Linked DNA regions of Homo sapiens: region 2 is linked to region 1. Evidence: promoter capture Hi-C in human tissues and cell types (Jung and others, 2019). All regions are on one chromosome and are shown on one strand. The core of a region is centred on a gene start or on the middle of the fragment in contact, and the rest is flanking DNA. Distances in the headings are between cores, read along the strand shown.

Region 1 (7,345 bases), core at 3,011-5,510:
CTAGAACGATCCACACTCCAAGTCAAGACAACATCTACCAGATAGGACAAGGCAGAGAAAGGGTGAGATAATCCTCAGAGGAGGACTTTGGCTCCTAAAATCCCCAAATAGTATTTAGCTGGAAACTTCAACCACTTCATCAACCAAAAGTTTCAGAAGAAACCAAAAGAAAGCTTTTTCAGGATCTGGGGTCCTCCCTACTCTTCACTGTGTTTCTCCCTCTTGTGGAAGTGCTAGTACACAGACATTGGCCACAACGAGGATGAAAAAGGAAGTAATGGATGGAACAGAAAAAATTGCCCAGGCTGCAAAACTCAAATCCAGCTTTGTGAATAAAAAGCTGTTTTTTCTGAATCTGCCATGGAGAAATGGTAATCTCAGTGAAGACAGCTAGATGATTATATTGGAACCTTTATAGAATGCCTCATGAGAAGATGGTTACATGTAAACTTCACAATTAGAATCTGCTAGAACTCATACGCCTATCACATTCCACTCTATCCTAGTAATAACTACACCAAAGACCTTTAAGGATGTGTTGACCTCCTTCGTTTCTAAGTCAGTCTTGATTCATCTTTCTCCTCCTATCAAGGCCTCCAGAAAATGCATCTGGTAGCTCAGTGAAGACATTTGCTCTGAGAAAATACTTGTTCCTATGGATGGGACACAGTCTTGCATGGATGGGTTTGTTACTTCTGAGGGATCCACCCAGTACAATCATCAAGTCAATCCAGAAACTCATACAAATTTTAAAATTTCAAGGCCAGAGGTAATCTCATCTCTATTTCATAAAAACCAGTAGGGTTTTTATTTGTTCAGAAAAGTCTCCTTTACTTTTCTGAAAGGAGTCTGTTTCAAATCTGCTTCTTTAAAAATGTATAACACTCCTCAATACCTCCAAGAAAAAAAAAAAGTCTGCTGTGCAGACGGGAAGGTGAAAAGAGAAGAATTCATATTTATTCACTGTAAAAAGTTGGGGTGGTAAATTAAATCTTCACATCCCTTTTGATCCTATTATATTTTTAATGGCAGAAGCTCCCAGCGAGGGCTCGAGTGGGATGCAATAGAAGTTTTAACATTCAAGGGAGCAGATGAACTTGCCTCGGTTTGTGTGACTGAATGAGAAATTACCCAGCGCAGCTCTGCTCAGGGCAATAGGTCCCTTTGCCTGTGCTGGATTTGGGTCAAACAGCTAAACCTCAAATCAGAAAATATCAGCATCATTTTGTGGGGACACAGAAGTGTGGGTAACAATAATGATAATCAAACCTGATCAAAGATGCCATTTCCTGAGCAACGGAGCCAGTTGCTACACTCAAAAGTCCATTATTTAGAGGGTGACTGTTCTACGCAAAGATCTATCACACTCCCCTGGGACACAGACTTCTCAAACCAGCTTCATCGAATATGAACTATATCATCAAGAAAGGGTCTGGTTATTTTCTTCCATCCCCTCTTTTGATTCTAGGTATTGATAAAATAAATTGACTCCTTAGTCCTATTAGGAAGTTCTGGGAATGTTTCCTTGACGAATTTTCTTCACTCTGGCTCATCTAAATTAGAATGTTTGTATTAAAGATAAATGAGAAAAAAATTAATGAGGTCGAATGAGAAGGTTTATAAAGATTTGTGAAAGGCACATGGAGCTCAGACATCATTAAAGAGCAGAACTCATTCTCAAGTTTCCTATCCAGCATGATATCCACTGCTATCTCTGTGGCCACAGAGCCTGGGAGTGGCAAAGTGGCTTCTCACTGAGGAATCGGACAGGCATGTTTCTATATCACGGTGAAAGGAAAAGAAAAGGAAAAAACCCCAGACAGCAAACAGAGATTGTGACAAAGATAACCACAAGGAATGTAAATAAAATATGATAAGCAGCTCACTCACCATCTCATCCTCAACAGCTCTCTCAGAGGCAAAAGTAAAAACATATAAATTATGTGTTTTCAAGGAGAGTCAAGCAATACTCTTTGGGAAGAAGCCACGGATATAAAAAAATTTTTCCGCATTTGTCTCACTTCTCTAATCTCAAGGCTTGAGATGTATGTACTTTCAAAAGAGACTCATCGAAATTTGGGCAGCATGAAGTTGAGCCCCCTGTTGGTAAGGACCTTCCAACAGTGACTCGGTCTTATTGGTGATAAGCCCTGTTTATATGAGCTTTCAAAAGCCTAAAAACAGGTTCTTTCAACATGACACCTTGAAATAAAATAAACGCATTGCAAACACCAACTGCAATAAACCAGGCTCACGCCAAAATGCACACGTGCACATTTCACAAAATAAGGGGGAGACATTTCTAGTGAGGAGCAATCTCTATGGGAAGGCAAGCGAGAGCGCCCACCTGCCAAGGGTCACATGCTCCAGAGCGCACAGGATTCCCTAAGTGAAACAGGCCGGTAGGAAGAACTTGAATAGTCAAAAATCTACAAACTCTTCAGAGGTACAGATCATCAGGCCATAAAAGCCACCTCAAGGAATTTTGGTCACATCTCTCTAAGGACTTCCAAAAGCTACCCTCTGCACTTGAACAGGAAACCTGCCAGCTCCCCTCAATCATTCTGCTCCTTTGGAATAGAAGTTACGCCTTTAACCGAAGGAGAACTTCAAATGCGCCACTGGTATCTGGTGCCACTGCCAAAATATATTTACATCACCTTCTATCAGTCATTCAGAGCCCAGTGCTGATATTCTCTTAGTAAGACAAGGAGGGGGTTAGGAGGTTGGTCATCCACCTCCTCATCTGCAAGGCTAAATGCAGGTTTTCTTGTTTATTCTACTTGAGACCCTGGGGAACTGGTCTGGTGTCTCAGGCTCTGATAAATTGAACACACTCCCCGCAAATCATGGCCCAGGGAGCTTTGGAAAGGAGCTGTGGGGCATCTGTTTCTGCTAAATGCAATGCCCTCTGCGGGTTGTTCCTCTGTATGAGGACTCCTAGACAAAGGTTAGCCTCTCCCTGCATCTGAGAAACTGTGCTTGGGGCTGTAAATGTTCATTGAGAAGCCTCCAACCTAGCCAGGGCCTGGCCTCATTGTCCTAAGTCTTCAGATGCACTCAGCCTCCAATGGTGCTGTATTTTACCAGTTAAACACGTCTTCAAAGTTTACTACGAAACAATGTGGCTCCTAGCTTGCCAAAAGTTTAACTGCAGGATTCAGTGGATTTTATCTGGCAGAGTAGCTGCCGTGACTCTTGACAATATTTGCCAGCAAAAGGCAGTCCTCAAACCTTGCAACCAGGGCAATCCCAAGGCCCAACGTGTCACTGAAGGAGTTCTTCTGGGAAAGGTCCCTCTTTCTCTTCAATCGCCTCCCGCAAATCCCCAGCTTCCAGAATCCAATTCAAGGCAGTCTGGCATTTCAGGAGACAGCAGTAAAAAACTTTTGATGGGATAACCCAGGACATAAATATTCCTGGCTGAACCTACTTTTGATTCTTAAATATCTGAAGGAGCTTGGGTTTAAGGAAGATAAAGGGAGAGAACCAATGAATAGGGAAAAATAAAATAAGTAGCATACCATGACCAAGCCAAACCAAGCTTGATATTTCCACATTATATTGGCAAATGGATGCTTTCACATATCACTTGTTCTGTCTTTCCTGGTGACCACAAAAAAAAAAAAAAAAAAAAAAAAATCTGGCTTCAAAAATCCTAACCCCAGACCACTGCATTGTGTCAGTGGAATGCAATCTAAATTGCCAGTCAGAAAGTCCAACCTTATATGTACCAACCAACACGCACACAAGCACCTCCAAGCCAAAAGTTGTAACGCCTGAACCCGTGCGTTTATCAATTTCATCATCCCCATACCCCTGCCGGGTTCCTGGCGCTGGGTAAACCGACAGCATCATGTTGCCATCGATGCGTCTTACAAGATGGTTTTGGGCAAATCCCCTAAAGTAGGCAGAAGCAAAAACTAGGTTCCTCTGCCCGGGCACCTCCTCCTCCAGGCTGGCCCCCGGCTCCCGGGTGCCCCTTACCTGCAGGCGCTCCGTGGCCGGCTGCCACATCTTCCAGCCCTGGGTTTTGGCAGAGGAGACGCTGGCGAGACTGTCGATCGCGCCGGGGGGCGAGGGGCTGGGGTCCCGCTTTACATCTGGGGTCGGTGTCCGCGGGATGTGCGTCCTGGCGCTGGCCACCGCCGCCGGGTGGGCGTAGGGGGCTGCGAGCAGGAGGAGGCGCGGCGCTCAGCTGCCGGCAACTTGTGGGCACGGCCGCGCGCCGGCTGTCCTGGCGCAGCTGCGAGAGGACTGCGCAGCTCCGCCCGGGCCCGGCGAGCGCGCGGCGGCGGCGGGGGCGGCCGCTCCCTCCTCCCCCGCCGCCGCCGCCCGGACCTGCGCGCTCTGAGCATGCCCGGGGCGGGCGCCCAGGGGCCGCGCGGGGCGGGAGTGCAGCGCGGCCGACTCTAAATCCTAGTGAGGGGTGAATGGGGAGGCTAGAACAGCCGGCCCTTCCCTGCAGGAAGCCCCCATTGGGTTGGGGTCTGGGAAAAGGGACAGACTGGCTGAGGGGGGAAGGGCCTGGAGCCGGGGGTGGTGGGGGCAGCGGGGATGTCGGGGGTGGCGGGGGTGGGGGAAATTCCTAAAATAAGGAAACCGTAGCCCCGGGGGTCCCGGGTTTCCATATAACAGGCATCTCTGAAGTGCCTGTGCTGTGCCTGGCGCTGTGCTAGGGAGACACTTCCATTCATTCTTCCCACTCCAGTTAACTGAGCATCTATTAGGCTCCAGCCCCTATGCTGGGTTCTGAGGATGCAGCGACGCAGAATAGAAGACAAGAGAATGTTCCTTCTCTCTGGAGCTTACCTTCTGCTTTGGAGAGAGAGTCGTGACTGAGCAAACACATCAACAAGCCGGTGCTATATCGGGTGGTGATAAAACAGGGCAGATGTGGGAAGAAGGGGAGAGGAGAGCTTCTTAGACAAGGGCCCTGGGGAATGCCTGGAGTAAGACCTGAGAGATGAGAGGGATTGGCCACGAAGAGGCCATGCTTCATGATGGGGAGAGGACTCGACTCCTAACCTATACAGGGGTGAGGAGGGCCATGCAGACTCCCGAATCACTAACTCATCCTGAGATCTGCCAGGTGCAGCAGGAGGCTCTCAGAACCCAAGGGAAAGCCGCTCTGGGCTCGCAGGCCTGGAGGCTCCCCGGCTAGTGCCGGCCACCATGAGATGACTTCCTGTCCTAAACAGGCCAGCCCTTCCCATTCTCTTGACAACTCGGCAAAATAACTATTAATATTTTCACCATGTGGATCAAACAAATGAGGCTTATAAGGTTTAGGTCACTTGTCCAGGTCACACAGCCAGTGAGTGGCTTAGAGAGTGCACAGTCAGATGACTTCAGGGCAGGAGATGTGGCCCTGCGCCTCTAACTGACCATGGAAACCCAGTGGAAAGAGCATCCGTCTAGGGCTGGGGGTTAAAGGCACTTGGCAAGTCAGGGATACTAAGCTGATTCTCGAGCTGATGAAGAGTGGGAGAGGAGAACATGGTGGGAAGAACTCAGGACATAGAATGACCAAAGAGAGGAGCAGAGAGAACACAATGTTTGTGGGGAGCCCTAGGCTCCTACAAGGCAGGGTCCTGAGAGCAGAGGGGTGTGAAAGAGAGGCATTTCATACTGAGACAGCTGCACAGCTTGGGCCGTGAGCTACTCATGCAATGTCAAAATCCACACTCCATGTCTGGAAGGAGGATCTGTCCATTTTCCTTGTTCTGCATGACTACAATGATTTCCAGATATGGAACCACTCCAGAATCTAACCCTCAGCTCATCGGACCCTCGCAGCAACTCTCCGTGGGACAGAAGCCCCTATCTCCCAAGGCTTGGGGAGCACAGGGTTCACAGAGTCACACTGTGGGGAGTTACAATGGCGATTCAGATCCAGGATTCCAGGCAGATCCTTCTGGACCCTGCGGTTGCTATGTTGGTGCCACCAGCCTTGGCAAGCCCAGGACCCTCAGTGCCTCTAGGAGCCTCTGGCAAAGCCACAGAGCTGCCTCTGAAGAGCTTGTCTCTGTCTCCCTGGATATCCACAGGACCCTCCCACTCCTGCCTGATAACCACCTGAACCTTCTCAGCTCCTTCTCCAGTTCCTGCTACTTGTTCTGAACTTATTAATAAATCTCTTTTCATGAGGTGTTTGCCTGTCAGCCCGCACAGACATGTGCCTCACATGCTTGGTGATATGGTCTCTGTTTGCTTTTCCGGTAACTCCTCCTGCACACCTCCACACCTACAAAATTCCTTATGACCTTCCCAGCCCCCAGTTCTCTTTTATCAAATCCCAAAGTAGAAAGAAATGCAATTCATTACAAAAATCTAGAAAATCCAGACATGCATATAAACCCCACCCCCCAACCCCCCCAGGAAGCTAAAACAGGAATATTCAGTTGCCAGGGATGTCTTCAGACTTAAGCTCTGAAACCATCCTTGCTTGCAGATGCTTCCGTGGAAAAGTGATTTTGTTTTAAATAGCAGTGGAATGAGTTAACGGCCTAAATTCAAATCGCATTAGAGCGTTAAATCCTGTCTTCTCACCTCCAAACGTAATTAATTGTTATGACTCAGTAATACAGCTTTTAGTACGGAGTATGGTGCTATTTAAAGAGAAAAAGCTTTGGCTCTGTAAAGATTGCTTTCAGTTACCGTTCCCACTTTGCAAACAGATTTGGTAAAGTAAAGAATGTATTTAAACTCAAATGGCACTCCTGTTTCAATTACCTTTATGCCACGAATCAGGAAGCTAGGGGAGGGGGTGGAGGAGGGGCAATTGCAGGCTTGTGGGAGGTGACAAAAGGATGGGACAACCTCCCACTCATAGATTTTGCTCCCAAGTCTTCCCATTCAGGAGGAGCCTGCAATGAAGGGTGAATGAAATAGAGACATCTGCTGGCTAGAGATGAGACCTGCATGCCAATGTCTCCCAGCTCTGTTCTGTGACATTGGAACCTCATCCTTCCTGGTGAATCTGAAAATGCTGCCTTACGATGTAAACAGGTTTGTTCTGAGCAAGAAACCACCCTTAAAATGAGCAGAAGGTGTTTTGGTGCAATGAGTAGAAATATTAGGCATGTAAATGTGTGCCTAATTTCATGTACTTAGTCTCCTGCAATTACCGAAACAGGTCTAATCTTGTCAATAAATACCATTTGAAGGCAAATGACAGAAATCAAAAAAGCTTGACAAGGCACAGATGCGTTATTCACACATTTGGTTCAGAAAAATAATTACAGCATCCCTAGAAATTGTGTTAAGCCAGATTTGATCTAGTTCATGGTTCTGAGCCCTAGCATAAGCAACCTCAATGTCCAAGTCAGAGTAATGGTGAATG
Region 2 (7,345 bases), core at 2,997-5,496, 190 kb before region 1:
AAGTAGATTATTTAAAAGATATACTTTTCTTTTTGTCAAGTTATTATAAATCAGAAACCAAAGCAAATTTACTCATCAAAGACCAGGATGAGTATCGGTCTAAGTCGGGGCTGAGAAGACTGGCCAGGAAATTGTATTTTAACTCTAAAAAAGCCTCTTTGGGACCTCCTTTATTTGCCATGACTGCTATATGGTTTGTTTTATTCAAAATATTTATTCATTGTGTCTACTTATCCTAATTCAACAGGACTTCAAAGATTTGAAGACACTTTTATTTTTTAATTTAAAAATAACATATCTATTGAATCATTTTGCAGTTTGTCAAGAATATATGCTCTGAGGAATCAAAGATGGGAAACCTCTAGAAAGATTTGAGTCTCTTTCCTTAAGCTGCTATACTATCTGTCTTTCTATCCTCTCTAGTTCCATTTTGGTTTCTACAATTTGTTTCCCCAGTTCTCCACTGAGGCATGAGCCACTATTAAGTGTCTATGGCACTCAAGACGTGCCAGGGAAGTGAAGTACTACAAGTTCTTTTCTGTCCTGTAATTTCAAGAAGTGGGTTTTTAGCATCTCCAGTTGTTCCATTTGAGGAGATAAATAGTGGCATGGAAAGATGTAAGATGAGACCAATCTTTCTCTGTATTCTGTCAAGCATCAGTTAAATCCAAAGTTAAAAGAGCAGAGCCTGGGACCAAGGGGCTGAATCTATCCAGTAATTATTGTGCCCCCATTATACTATGGGAAAAAGAAGATGTTTAAGCAGAAACACTCTCAGGTATTCTGGAGGAGGGCAGTGAGGTTGAAGCCATGGCAGGGGAGGAAGGAGATGGGCATGGAGCACTGGCATGGAAGCTGTGAAGTGGGTCCAGGAGGGAGCTTGCCTGGGACTCTGCCGGTCAGAGGCAGCAAGGCAGCTGCAGTCCAGCAACAGGGGAGGGGACAGGTGAGGCGGGGCCTCTCCTGCCTCCCTGTTCTCCAGTCCACCCTCCCAAGGCATGACCTGTGAGCACCTCAGCGGCTGCCTGGCCAGGAGGAGACATGGGTAAAACTTGTCTTCCATGGTTCATGTGAAAGAATCAACAAACAAAAATAAAATACAAATCTCATCAGGTTCCTTCCTTAAAACTCATGGCTGCTCACTGTCTTCTGGACAAAGTTCAAGGCACTTGAGGCTTTCTGTAATCTGGCTTCTACCTACCTTTGTAGCCTCATTTTCACCCCAATACTGAGGCCCTAACAAATCAGGTACCTTTCCCTGAGTCAACACATCCTTACATACCTCTGTGGTTGTGCACATCCTGCATTCTCTCCCGGGCATGGCTCTCCAACACCCATCCTAGCTTCCTGACTTACTTTGTGAATGACCCCTCACACTAAGACACAGACCACAAGTCACCTCCTCACCTCCTAGCCTTTTCCTAACCCTCCAGGTGAAATTAGGTGCTCTAAATTCTGTGTTCAACCCTCATATATGCACCAATTAGAGTTCAGATCACAGAACAATTTAATGCATGTCTTTCTCTAGGAACCTAGGATGTTCTCAAGGGCAGAAGTCACATCCTATTCATCTTGCATCTTTCAGCCATTAGCACGGTGCAGGATGCAGTAGTGACTCAATAAATATTTATTAAATAAACTGTTGTGAATGTTGCCCAAATCAAAATGCAGTCACATATGTTTAAAACAAACAAGAAAACCTCTAACAAATAGAGCTAGGGAAGGCCATGAGAAGGTTCTCATGCACGAATGCCTGATAACAAGAACTATCATAAAAGACTGTAGAAAACACAACCTCACATAAAAGCCATCTCAACCTTAAACAAAATACTTCAGTGAGGACATCTTCCCAGTACCTTCCTGTCCAGCCTCAAACTGGAACCACCCTTGTTATTGCTGGATGCTAGTGGCAAAGGATAATTATCTCAAACAATAATGTAATCTTCCTCATTTTTTCTCTAAAAACCTCTGCTTTCCTTCACCTCCCCGAATACATACATAGCTTACTATGTTACACATATTCCCATTGCAATGCCTACTCCTGAATAAATATCATTTTCTTTTAGAGAGCCTCTCCCTGTTTATTATTTAGGTTTACATTGTTGATACATACATTCAAATACATTTAACCATTGTTTTCTGAAAACTTACCACTCAGCAGACCTCTACAGGATCCTGAAGCTACCAAGGTAGTTAAAACATGATTACTATGCTTAAGAAGCTTGGACTCTTGCAGGGAAGACCAAATATCTAAAGACATAATGATAATGCAACATAAAATGTACAGTGCTTAGGTATATAGTAGGTTCAAAAATGTGACTCAAGAGAAAAATATTGAGATGTAACCTGTCTATAGCAGAAACTTTAATGAAAGGAGAAATAAATTTGGCCAGGATGCTTCAAGCTGATTTAGCAGCCAGCAGAGAGCCACTGAAGGGCTTGGGAGAGGAATGGCATGCTGATGCAGATGGCATTTTAGAAGAACCATTTGGCAGCAGCATGATGAAACCACTGGAGCAAAGAGAAGGTGCAATATGAGACGCTCTAAGCTTCCTTGTTCTGAGTTACAAAACATGACTTCCTGCTTTATAAAGCTGCTTTAGTTCCTTCCATTAAAGGTGACTATATCATCAAGGGAAGCCAAGGAGTGCATGCCACAAAGAGTTAAATGCTGGACAAACAAAAGTTAATAGTGTTTGCAGAATATGATGCATGTTGGCATTTACTGGGAAGTGCAGCTAAAAGCAGAAGAATTTGCCAAATAGCTCAGGAAAGTACCACAGAATTCTCAAAGTCAGGGGAGTTCAAGAAGAGCAAACTGCATCATGAAGAATTCTCAGTCTAGTACTTCCAGCTGGCTTTTCAGAGAAACTGTTTAGTCTCAGCAACACTTAAGTCAAGAGAGTGAAACACAAATTATAACCTTAACCTAACAGAAAATGTGCATAAAACCTCAGTATTCTTTAATATGTCTCAAAATTGTATTTTCAAGCCCAGAGCTGCCACAGAGTCAAGATCAGGTGTTCTTGAGATGTCACCATGATACTCAGAGTAACTGCTCAAGTTTATCAATGATTCAGAGCCTCCTTCAGACTCTGGAAGAGGACGAGGCTCCAACATGGACTATGATGCCAAAAAGAAGGTATAATGTTGCATGGAGAAATGCACACCACCACCAGTCAGTTAAAAACAAACAAACATGGCTGTACCATAATTTGGTATTTCTTCTCTCCCACCTTCTGTGATAGGCAGAATTCTAATTCTAAGGTGGACTCACTGACCTTTACCCCATGGTGTTACTCCAGTGATTATGTTATATCACACAGTGAAAGAGAGTTGCCAGTGTCATTAAGGTTACTAATCAGTTGACCTTAAGAAAAGGAGATGACGCAAGTGGGTTTAATCATATGAATTTTGTTTTTAAAAACCGAAAATTTTCTCTTGCTGTAACAAAGGGGGAAGCCAGAGAGACTGGAAGTGTGAAAAGGACTCCAACACTATTGCTGGTTTGAGGATGGATGGAGTCATGTGAAAAGGGATGCAGCTGGCCTTTAGAGCAGAGAGTGGCTCCTGGCTAACAGCCAGTGATGAAACAAGGATCTCAGTCCTACAACCACAAGAAACAACTCTGCCAAAGATCTGAATGATTTTGAAGTACATTCTTCTTCACATCTTCCATAAGAGAATACAGCTCAGCCAACATCTAGATTTCAGATTTTTAAGGCCCTAAGCAGAAGACCCAGTAAAGCCCACCAGAACTTCTGACCTATAGGACTGTGAGATAACCAATGAGTGTCATTTTAAGCTGAAAAAGTTTGCATTAATTTGTTATAGTGGCAATAGGAAAGGGATGCACCTCCAAAAACTTATTAAATTGATGCCCATAAATTGACGGACATAAAGGTCTCAAAACTAAATAAATGCTTCCATCCTAATGTGATTTCATAAAGCAGGGGAATTGTACATTAAGGAAAACTATAAAGAAAAAAAAAGCACATTGAAGAATGATGAATTTGCGAAAGGCACCCAAGAGATTGTAGGAACAATCTTTTCCCTGCTGTTCAGAGAACCCATTTCTTTCCATGGCCCAACTGAACACCTTATTTTCCAGTAACATAAATATTATAACTCCATCTATTCAGTTGATCATTCATTCATTCAATCCAGTATGTGCTGGAGTGGCTAATGTATACCAAGTAATGGACTGCCCAGCACACCTAGGCCAAGAGTGCAAGGGCATAAAAAACTACTTGGCCGTGCTACAATTCATCACTGCCCATGTCAGGCAAAACATTAAAAGAATTTTTTTTAAGATCTAATGTTACTAGCAAATAGGATGCTAAATTAGACAGGGAAAAGGAGCCTCTGCCCAAATTTTGAATCAATATTAGCCATAAACACTAGTATGACACTAAAGAACTTGAGGCAAGAGAAAAACATCTGTTATTTGAGAAATAACTGAAAAGGATGACACCAGCAAACAAACACTTGATTCAGAACCACCTCTTCAGTTAAGCAGTGAAAATATATGGGTGTATTCTCATTCTGTAGTGAGTGTCAGAAATAATTCCATTATGAAAAGATCTCTTGGTTTGATGAGAGTGAAATTGACCCAGGGAAGCTCTTGGGACTCAAGGGTTACCTGTTCAGAGCTAACATGTTTATTCCAAGTACAACCTTGGCAAGCTGTCAAAGGCAATTCAGATTATAACACCCTTGGTCACGTGCAATAGCTCAAAACAGCCAACGCCACAAGAGAGCTGCCACAGGGGCAACCTCATGACAGAAAGATGTAAAGGTTGACTGAAATATTGAAGAGGTAGCTAAGGAGTTCAATGGCTCCCAGATTTTTACATTCTTTGCGTTACTTTAACCAGGCAGTGAAGTTCAGTAACCTACCACATGCTGTCTATATAATAGGAAACATTTACTTCAGTGAATGATTATAAACAGAAGACACTTGAGACAGCTCACTGCCAATCGGACCCTTTAAATAGTTACATTCTGCTGGCTGACACAGTGTTTATTACTGTGGTTGCTTCAAGCAAGCTCTAAACTAGAACTATACACGAGGAGGTACTCTGGCTTTCCTGGTCATGCCACTGGCTATTTCAGGGATAGAGAGGTGACAAGGTCAGACACAAAGCCAAAGGATACAAGTCTTCTTGCTATTGGCCACCTCCTGTATTATTTATTATCATTATTTTTATTCATTGCCTACATGGCCACCACTTCATACAAAGTGGAAATTTTCTCTTGGCATATGCATGGGGATACTTTAATTGTTCCTTATGCCAATAAGTGGCAGGAAAAGTCTTTTCTTTCTAACTGGTAATGGTGTTGACAGCTCTGTTTCGCCTCCAGGTTAACCTAAAACGATTGAGCTGGCAATAGTGATTTGACTTAGCTGGTGGGTTTACAGGCATATGAATTGCGACTGTCTCATCCCATCCTGCCAAGATAAATGGTTTCTTTTCTATGCTTCAAATATAATTATGTTCCTGATTAATAACAAATGTGATGACACAGACTCTGAAGCAATGCGAAAGCAGCCAACTTTCAACCACTACAGTATTTGTTGTATGACCATTAAAAAAGGGTTCACCAGACTCACAGCCAAGATGGCAAGACTTTTCAAGAACAAAGGGCGAGTGGAGTCTGTGAAGCAAGCTCTAACTTAACATCACATGTGAGAAACAATGCACAGCATTCACTCTCTAGTCACTTGAGAAAAGCACACATTTCTCTTTACTGCTTTAAAGCTTCATAATTCACAGCGAGCAAGCAGTTAGGATACGGCCTAAGAAAAATACTGCTTTATTTTCCTTAGTAGTTCAAAGGAGATAGTTCATTTCAGTAGAAAATCGAGTCACCTCTTTTTAAAACTATGTTTTCTTCTTCCTTCCTTTCTCCTTATCGTTTCTGGATTCTGAACACCTCCCTCTTTAAAGAGCTGAAGACAAGGCTTTCTAACTAGGAAAATGATACAAGATAATGCACCATATTTTTTCTTTAAATAAACTATGACAATTGCAACTATTTTATTACAATTATTTTAATTATAGAGATAGCTTAACAATGATAAACCCATTGCATACACATCTCTCTCATCCTCATACTACATATACTTGTAAAAAAAAAAAAAAAAAGAGCAAGTACAGGTATTGTCTTCATGCAAATGAGGGAAACTTAATCACACAATTTGATGTGACTCCCTTGGTCTTTCAAGAAGTCCATGAAAGATCTCATCAATTGATTCTAGAGTCTTCTGACCTCCGTAAGAACATGACTCTTTCAAGTCAGGAAAGTCATTTCATTTACCTTTGCATTTTACCATCAATCCCATGCCTTGTATTCAAAAGGTGTTCAATAAAGCTGTGTTGGATTGAATTGAATTTTGAGAGAGCTGGCTGGCTAATTAATTGTGAAATTCAGGTTCTGAATCATTTTAGAAGCTTTAGGATCATTTGATGACTATTGTAGAAACATCAGTCAAAATGGTAGTTAGAAGATACCCATGAAGAAACATTGCTTAAATATATATGACATATACTTGTGATACCTGACAACACAAGTAACCTGTTACATAAATAGAAAAGTAGATTCCATCAATCAAGTATGCCCTTTGTCCTTCAACTAGTCAATTAAGTATATGGTTCATCAGACCACAAAATTCAACTCAATTTCAGCTGATCTGCATCATACCAAATAATATTAATCCACATGATACTATAAATGAGACAAACTTGAAACTGCTGGGAGCATGAGGAAGCATTCAAGAGACAGCTGATTAAAGCTTCTGAAAAATCAGTTGAGGGGAAATCTGTCTATTATTATAAAAAATTAAGATTATATTCAGATTAACAACATTTAAAATAAGGCGACTGGATTTCCTTAAAAGTCAATATTTTATTGACCCTGTAATACATACCCTATTTTGCGCTGCCTAATTATATTTAAATTCAGGACCTATTCCAAACTTGTAATGAACATGGAAAGAGCAATATATCTTTATTTTTAAAATATAATTAGTTTTGGGTGATTTCTTATTTGCATTTTCCATTAGCTTAAATTTCTATTACAGAAGCTCCTCAACTTATGATGCGGTTACATTCCAATAAACCCATTGAAAGGTGAAAATATCATTACATCAAAAATGTATTAAATACATCTAACCTACTGGACAGCGTAACTTAGCCTAGTCTAATGTAAACACGCTCAGAACACTTACATTAGCCTACAATTGAGCAAAATCATTTGACACAAGGCCTGCTTTATAATAAACTGCTGCATATCTCATGTAATTTATTGAATACTATACAGAAAGTGAAAAACAAAATGCTTG

What was found. The method cuts DNA at HindIII sites, captures the fragments that hold promoters and counts their contacts. A contact is called where the count stands out against the background at its distance.
Region 2: a contact is called between a fragment that was not itself captured here and the fragment with the promoter of PID1 in region 1, in 2 of the 25 tissues and cell types used here (dorsolateral prefrontal cortex and stomach).

Annotation. Positions count from the first base shown.
Region 1 is chr2:229,267,027-229,274,371 of GRCh38, forward strand. PID1 (phosphotyrosine interaction domain containing 1) reads right to left here and starts at 4,261. Exons shown (of 3, transcript NM_001100818.2): 1 at 3,988-4,261. The coding sequence starts at 4,017. The HindIII fragment of the contact is 5,052 bases long and covers 1,859-6,910 here.
Region 2 is chr2:229,079,092-229,086,436 of GRCh38, forward strand. All of the region lies in intron 2 of PID1 (phosphotyrosine interaction domain containing 1), which reads right to left. Among named protein-coding and RNA genes, the nearest start is that of PID1, 190 kb to the right of the region's middle. The HindIII fragment of the contact is 3,723 bases long and covers 2,386-6,108 here.